3 separate regions of the Homo sapiens genome follow, and regions 1 and 2 are each linked to region 3. Evidence: promoter capture Hi-C in 16 types of primary human blood cells and fetal thymus (Javierre and others, 2016). All regions are on one chromosome and are shown on one strand. Each heading gives the region's core, a stretch centred on a gene start or on the middle of the fragment in contact. The rest is flanking DNA. Distances are from core to core; before and after follow the strand shown. Region 1 overlaps ZNF630 (zinc finger protein 630). Region 2 has its middle 66 kb from the start of PAGE1. Region 3 holds the start of GRIPAP1 (GRIP1 associated protein 1).

What was found. Contacts are between HindIII fragments. The CHiCAGO score rates a contact against its expected background, and 5 or more counts as called.
Region 1: a fragment that was not itself captured here is called in contact with the fragment with the promoter of GRIPAP1 in region 3 in 1 of 17 cell types (total B cells); the score reaches 5.5 in total B cells.
Region 2: a contact is called between a fragment that was not itself captured here and the fragment with the promoter of GRIPAP1 in region 3, in 1 of 17 cell types (naive CD4 T cells). The highest score is 5.0, in naive CD4 T cells.

The regions. Positions count from the first base shown.
Region 1 is chrX:48,063,249-48,065,948 of GRCh38, forward strand. The region is part of intron 2 of ZNF630 (zinc finger protein 630); the gene reads right to left. The region is part of intron 1 of ZNF630-AS1 (ZNF630 antisense RNA 1); the gene reads left to right. Among named protein-coding and RNA genes, the nearest start is that of ZNF630, 7.0 kb to the right of the region's middle. The HindIII fragment of the contact is 2,537 bases long and covers 162-2,698 here.
Region 2 is chrX:49,760,918-49,763,617 of GRCh38, forward strand. No RefSeq gene overlaps it. Among named protein-coding and RNA genes, the nearest start is that of PAGE1, 66 kb to the left of the region's middle. The HindIII fragment of the contact is 1,971 bases long and covers 328-2,298 here.
Region 3 is chrX:49,000,874-49,003,573 of GRCh38, forward strand. GRIPAP1 (GRIP1 associated protein 1) reads right to left here and starts at 1,391. Exons shown (of 26, transcript NM_020137.5): 1 at 1,315-1,391. The coding sequence starts at 1,356. RefSeq lists an enhancer at 1,400-1,509. The HindIII fragment of the contact is 9,873 bases long and covers 1-1,732 here.

The DNA of each region.
Region 1 (2,700 bases), core at 180-2,679, 940 kb before region 3:
AAAATCACTACCTGGCCAAAAAAAAAAAAAAAAAAGTTTGCAATGTGCACTTCAAAATCACTCATATACAAAAAGCTCCTGGGAAACCATAAGCAAAGACAAGGAAAGAGGGATTCACAGAGAAATACAATATGGAAAATAAATATGTGAAAAGATGCTGAAGCTTATTTAATCCCTATAGAAAAGCAAATGAAAATGAGATATAATGCTTAATCATAAAAACAACAAGAATGAAAAAAACAGATGATGGCTAATGGTGGCAGGAGGGAGGGGGAACCTTGGGAAACAGGTGGGCTTTCTTGTAAACAATTTGTGGCCACATGTTCAGCTGATTACACAGTATTGAAATACAATTTGGGCTGGGCAGGGTGGCTCATGCCTGTAATCCCAGCACTTTGGGAGGCCAAGGTGGGCAGATCACTTGAGGTCAGGAGTTCGAGACCAGCCTGCCCAACATGGTGAAACCCAGTCTCTACTAAAAATACAAAAATTAGCCGGGCGTGGTGGCAGGCACTTGTAATCCCTGCTACTCCGGAGGCTGAGGCATGAGAATCGCTTGAACCTGGGAGGCGGAGGTTACAGTGAGCTGAGATCATGCCACTGCACTCCAACCTGGGGGACAGAGTGAGACTTTGTCTCAAAAAAATATATATATATACGATTTGAAAAATACTCTTTAAATTTATAAGTCTGTGTGCCTCTGACCTAGCACACTCATGTCTGAGAATGTGGCCTACACAAATACTTCACAAATATAAAAAGATATCTTTATATGGTTGTTTTATTTGTGACTTCACTGCTTGAGAGGTCTGGTTAGGTCATGTACTAGCTGTGTGATCTCTGTGCCTCATTTTCTTCATCTGAAAAATGGGAATAACAATGGTACCTAGCACAGAGGGTTCCTGGGTGAATTAAATAAGTTAATCCCACGATATTTTATAATAGCAGTGCCTGGCACATGATAAGCACTGAGTAAATAGTAGCTATGATTCTTCTTATTATTATTACTACTGTATATAAAAGAAAAACTAGAAATAACTTTTTTACAGCCCATCAACAAGGTTCTGGTATCCTGCAAACATTAAATGGACATTTAATGGACATTAATTTGACAATGTACATCAGTAGACAATGTAGATCAGGACATAGCAAACTATAGCCTGCAGGCCAAATTTAGCCCATCATGTGTTTTTCAATGGCCCACAAGCTAAACTGGTTTTACACGTTTTCTTTTGAGACAGTCTTGCTCTATCAGCCAAGCTGGAGTACAGTGGAACAGTCTTGATTCACTGCAACCTCCTCCTCCCGGGCTCAAGTGATTCTCCTACATCAGCCTCCTGAGTAGCTGGGACCACAGGCGCATGCCACCATGCCTGGTTAATTTTTGTATTTTTTTGTAGAGATGCGGTTTCGCCATGCTGCCCAGGCTGGTCTAGAACTCCTGAGCTCAAGCAATCCGCCCACCTTGGCCTCCCAAAGTGCTGGGATTATAGGCGTGAATAGCTAGCTGTATCTGGTCTGGTTTTTACATTTTTAATGATTGAAAAAAAAGTCAAAAGAAGAATATTTTATGACACATGAAAATTATATGAAATCCAACCTTCAGCATCCATAAATAAAGTGTTATTGAATCACAGCCAGGCTCATTGGTTTACATATTGTCAATAGCTGCTTTCTACCTAAAACAGCAGATTTGAATAGTTGCAACAGGGGCCGTATGGCCCACAAAGCCTCAGATACTTCGATCTGTCCCTCTACAGAAAAAGTTTGCTGACCCCTGACTTAGAGGAACTGGACAAATTACTTGAAAATTACAATTTACCAAACCAGACATAAAAAGAAATAGAAAATCTGAATGGTAGTATATCTTTTAAATAAATTGAATATGTAATTTAAAACCTTCCCACAAAGAAAACTCCATACCCTGATGGCTTCACTGGGGAGCTCTTTCAAACATTTAAGAAGGAAATAGGCCGGGCGCAGTGGCTCATGCCTGTAATCCCAACACTTTGGGAGGCCGAGGTGGGTGGATCACCTGAGGCCAGGAATTCGAGACCAGCCTGCCCAACATGGTGAAACCCCATCTCTACTAAAAATACAAAAGTTAGCCTGGGAGGTCAAGGCTGCAGTGAGGCAAGATAGTGCCACTGCACTCTAGCCTGGGCAACTGGGGTGAAACCCGGTCTCAAAAAAAAAGAAAGAAAGAAAGAGAGAGAGAGAGAGAGAGAGAGGGAGGGAGGGAGGGAGGGAGGAAGGAAGGAAGGAAGGCAGGCAGGCACTTGTAATCCCAGCTACTTGGTGGCGGGCACTTGTAATCCCAGCTACTTGGGAGACTGAGGCAGGAGAATCGCTTGAACCTGGGAGGCAGAGGTTGCAATGAGCGGATATCGTGCCATTGCACTCCAGCCTGGGCGACAAGAGTGAAACTCCATCTCAAAAAAAAAAAAAATTTAAGATGGAAATAGTACCAATATTACCCAAATTTTCCCAGAGAATATAAAGAGAATACTTTCCAACATGAGGCCAATGTAACATGATACCAAAAGGTGACAGAAACAATAGAAGAAAGTAAAATTACAGGCCCTTATGTCTTATGAACACAGTAGTATAAACCCTAAACAAAATATTAACAAGGGATTGGCTAGATCATGATGATGATGACGATAGGAGTAGGTGGGGATGAAAGATAGATAAAACAAG
Region 2 (2,700 bases), core at 63-2,562, 760 kb after region 3:
AGTAATGTGGTGGCATTGCAGCCAGGGCAAAGGAGTTGAGCCAACCACGTGGTGCTGAGAAGCATAGCCCTAAGATCTCCTGGACCTGGTGTCTTTTAGTGGGGTGGGGGCTGGGGATGCCCTATCTCAAGCCTGTGCTCCTGACCCCAGTAAATTTGCCTGCTGAGGTCCTGCTTGCTTACTTCTTCCTGCAGCTTCTTGGCGGCCCCAGCTGCAGTCTTTGGTTTTACTCAATTTGGATGTGTAGGTTACAGAGTTTGTATGGTAGAGTGTCTGTATTTCTTCATCTGGCTTTGGTTACACGTGGAAACATGACAAAGCAAGTCAAGCTTTCTATGAAGAGAAGGACAAAAATTCACTGAACTTATTCAAGTATTCCCCTGAAGTCTGCAGCTCAGGCACATTTCCATCTGGAGCCCATTGAATAGCACCAGCTCCCCTTCTCTGGATGGGCATCTGAGGATGAACTTCTGGTCTTAAGTGATCCTCCACCTCAGCCTCCCAAAGTGCTGGGATTGCAGGTGTGAGACATTGCACTTGGCCCAAAAGCAGATGTTTATACTAATAGGTATGGACAATGAAGAATTAAGTGGTGATTTCCATGCTCTTTATAAGATGGCAGAGAAATGAATACTACTTTTCTAAAAATAGTGCCTGCCAAAAGAGTTTGTTTCAATAATTTGGAAAATGCAGGTCCAAATGGCTCATTCTTTCAGATTGCTGAACTGATTTGCTGTTATTGCGGCTAGAGGCCTCTAAGAGTCACTGTTGAGCTCTCAGAGGAATGTAGAAGCTGACAGGAAAGAGAGGGTCTAGAAGGAAACCTTATCTTATATAACCAGAAAATATTTATCAAATGTGACGCATTAATCTTGATACAATATTATTAACCAAACTATAAAAGTTATTCAGATTTCATCAGTTTTTCCAGGATCCATTCAGGATTCCCCATGGTATTTATCATCTTAGTCACATCATGTCTCCAGTCTGTGACAGCTCCTCGGTCTTTTCTTGTTTTCCATGACCTTGACATTTTAGTGGTCAGGTGTTTTGTAGGCAGTCCCTCAATTTGAGTTTGTATAGTGGTCTGTCATGATTAGAATGAAATAGAAATTTCTCATAAGACTGAAATAGGTTTAAGTTAGTGGAGCCCTCTTGGGGCTAAATTTAAGAAAGGGAGAAGTTAATTTTCTTTGCCCTGCTGCACCTCCTGCATCTTGCCCTCCATTCCCATCTCCAGTTCACTTCTCTCTGCCCTCAGTGGCCAAGTCTTAATAAACACTTATGCTTGCTCTGTGTCCAAACCAATGATAAGCGCTTGGGGCACTGCAGATGGAAGGTGTCTGCCTCCATTCCTCTTTCTCTTCTTTCTTTCCATTTCTTTTCTTTCTTTCTTTTCCTTTCTTTCTTTTTCTTTCTCTCTCTCCTGTTTTTCTCTCTCCTTCTGTCTCTCTGTTTCTCTCTCTTTCCTTCTCTCTCTTTCTCTCTCCTCCTCTCTCTGTCTCTCTCTCTCTCTTTCTCTCTGTCTCAACAGGTGTCCTCAAACTCTAGGAATGAATTCCAATATCCTACATTGTGACCAGAAGGAGGCCCCACAGTACTCCTTCTGAAAGGGTTTGAGCAGAGGGCAGTCAGTCCCGCAGCTGTAATTCATCATTACACCACTCATTGTGTGAAACACAATAATGTCCCATTAGCAAAGTATTAAATCTGAAATGTTTGTACTGAATTCTGGAGAAACTTCCTGAGGTTACCTTCCCAACTGGGTGGTGTGATGTTTCATCTCAGTGGTTCTGATTTTTCTTACTTTCGGTGGAAGGGGGAATAGTAACTTAGTTTTCTGGAGTTTCCAGAGGGATGGGAAATATTATGAAATCAACAACGTTGCAGCTCAGAACATGATCCTTTCAATTTTCACCAGTGGCTAAAATTTATTATCTTTTTCTGATAAAAGTTTGGGGCTTTTAATCACAGCTCCATCGAGCCTCAAGGCTGGAGGAAGATCTTCCAGTCCTTGTCACAGTCCTGTCATTTTACATATGAAATCACCGAGGCCAGAGAGGGAAAAACAACCAATTACTCAATCAATGAAATCTATATTGCTTGTTTTCTGTGTGCTCAGTTCTGTACTGACTGGTAGAAGGGTATATAGGCTTATAGGACATTGTCCCTATCTGTAAAAATCTTCAAGATCTAGCATGGGGGTGTTTACTATTCTGTTTAAGGTGAGCAAGAGCAAGGCAGCAATTATGGCATTGATGCTAAGTATCATATGAATTCATAGATAAGTCCAACAAAAGCTTGAAAAGGCCTTAAAGTGGGGTAGAAATTGAACTGGATATGTCACAATTGATAGGATTTAGAGAGAGGAAAAAGCCAGACAGTGGAAGGCTCCAAAAGCCAAACAGAAAAGGTTGAAAGATTTGAAGCAAGAGTGCCATGAGGGGGCCAGTGTGGGGTTTTTTTATTTTCTTGTTTGTTTTGAGACGGAGTCTCACTCTGTCACCCAGGCTGGAGTGCAGTGGTGTGATCTTGGCTCACTGAAACCTCCGCCTCCCGGGTTGAAGTGATTCTCCTGCCTCAGCCCTCCTGCGTAGCTGGGATTACAGGCACGTGCCACCACGCCTGACTAATTTTTTTTTTTTGTATTTTTGATAGAGACGGGGTTTCACCACATTGGTCATGCTGGTCTCAAAATCC
Region 3 (2,700 bases), core at 141-2,640:
TCTGCTCAAGGTCAGAGGGCTTGGCCTTCACAGAATCTTTCCTACTCCTGTCCTCTCCAGGACCCAGTGATCTGTCTCTCCAAGTACTGGTCCAAGTGGAATATCCTTTGTACCCCCCGAGACTTGCCCCCCAACAAAGCCCAGTAGTTCTCCCTCATTCATGGCCCAGTGGGATCAATGTTCCTCATTCAAGGGTATTCCCACTCCCCTCAAGATCTCCCCAGTCATGATCCATTGGGAATGGCCCTACACCCTTCAGGGTAGGCCTCTACAAGGCCTTGGGTAGGCCAGTTGGATGACTCTTACTCACTTAGAATCCCTTTCAGATGACAGTGGTCTTCCCCATTCATGGGTTAATCAACTCGCCCTTCCATTCTCAGTGTCCCTCACACAGGGACAGCTGGTTTCCCTCATTCAAGGACCAATTGGATTACCTGTCCTCCCTCAGAGTTCCTCCCCTCCCCATGCAGGACCCTGTTCAGACCCCCCCCCCAGTGAGGAACCCTCTCAACAAGGGCCCATTCATAGTGCAATGCTATGGCCTTTCATTGCATCTCAGAGTCCCCCCAAAAGAATCAAGTGGGGGTACCTCCCCAAAGCCCAGTGATCTTCCCTCCTTGTAGTCCAAGGTATCAATCTTTTACCCCTCTGGTCCTCCCCCCAGTTAATGGGATTAATGGTATTACCCATTCATGGCCTTCTTCACCCCAGGCCTAATGGGATCACCCTTAATCATCCAATGGTGCCGCCCCCTCTTAGGATGCACTACCAACCACCAATGGCACAGGATCTCCACCTCCCAGGAACAATGACAACATCTGGGGTCTTTCCCCAATCCCCGGGCACAGTGGTATCTCCCCCAAAACTTACCACCTCCCACCCGCTAATGGTTCTGCCCTCTCAAGGGCTCCCACCACCATGACGCAAACGACCCAACACCCGCTTCCTTCCTCTCCAGACAAAATGGTTTCGCCTTCTCAGGATCTCCTTCCCTCAAAGCCCATTATCATCACCCGCCGACGGTGTCCCCTGCACGGGCCCAAAAGTCTCGTCCCCTCCAGGTCTGAGTAAGGTACCGCCTACTTAATGGCGCTCTCCCAGCCCACAATGCTAACAGAGTCCAACCTTCAAAGCCGCAGAGTATCTCGGAATCCAATAGTCTCACCACTCCGAGCCTCAGTTTCCCTTCTCCAGACCCACCCCATAAACTCAGGGTCCATCCCAACCAACCCCTTCTCAGAGCTGATAGCACGACCTCTCGCTACCCCGCCCCCGGTCGCCTAGCCGGGTGGTCTTTCCCACCGCGAGCGGCACCTGCATCCGCTGAAACTCCTCCTCAGACAGAGCTTGCGCCATGTTCCTCCCCCCACCCCCCCGCCAGCTTTCTGCGCAGACGCAGCTCGCGCCTCCTGGCAGTATTAAGGTCGGACCAAACCACTGGCCAGGAATGGAGGGGGTAGAACCTAATTCCGAAGGGCAGCATTTTGGAGACGCAGAGAAGAGAACGAAACCGACGAGTCAGGTGAACTGTAATACAACGTTCTACCCGAATGTAAGTCATCTGATTGGCTTTTGGACTCTTCTAGGCCACCCATTGTGATACGACATTATTACATCCCCGTTTCATGGGTGGACTCGTCGCTAGGGAAGTCTTTGCCGACAGAAAATCACCCTTCCGCGGTATTCCTTTAATGAGAATGGGTAACTTAATAACCATAGAAATGAAAGCGGAAGCTTCGCTCTGGTCTTGTTCCCGCCCCTCCTCCGGGAGACCCCAAAGGGGAATCCCACCTCTTGTAAAGCCTTTGGCCTTTTTTTTTTTTTTTTTTTTTAAGGTTTGACACTTATTTTGTTATCATGATACTGCATGTCACGTTAGGTAAAGGACTTAGCCACCAATAAAAATAGCAGAGTGGAAAGAGTGACAGTGAATCAAACGAAAAAGCTACATTAAAACAAAACAAAAACAAAAAACAAACCAGGGTGGTGAAACACCAGGCTCATTCAAGTATTAGAATTCACTATAACCCTCACCGATCTGAGAGTAAGAAATGGTATCTCAGTGTAGTTTTTTTCTTATTTTCTTTTTTCTTTCTGTTTTTGTTGTTGTTGTTGTTGTTGTTTTTCTTTTTTGAGACGGAGTTTCACTTTTGTTGCCCAGGCTGGAGTGCAGTGGCACGATATCCGATCACAGCAACCTCCGCTTGGCGAGTTCAAGCGATTCTCCTGCCTCAGCCTCCCGAGTAGCTGGGATTACAGGCGCCCGCCACCTCGTCCGGGTAATTTTTTTTTTTTTTTTTAGTAGAGACGGGGTTTCTCCATATTGGTCAGGCCGGTCTCGAACTCCCGACCTCAGGTAGTCCGCCCGCCTCGGCCTCCCAGAGTGCTGGGATTAAGGCGTGAGCCACCGCGCCCAGCCTTCTTATTTTCGTAGAATTTAATGATTTCCCTGCTGTGGAAAAATATTTCCAGCAGGGCCGGGCGCGGTGGCTCACGCCTGTAATCCCAGCACTTTGGGAGGCCAAGGAGGGCTGTTCACTTGCGGTCAGGAGTTCGAGACTAACCTGGCCAACATGGTGAAACCCCATCTCTACTAAAAACACAAAAATTGGCCGGGTGTGGTGGTGGGCGCCTGTAATCCCAGCTACTCGGAAGGCTGAGGCACGAGAATCGCTTGAACCCGCCAGGCAGAGGTTGCGG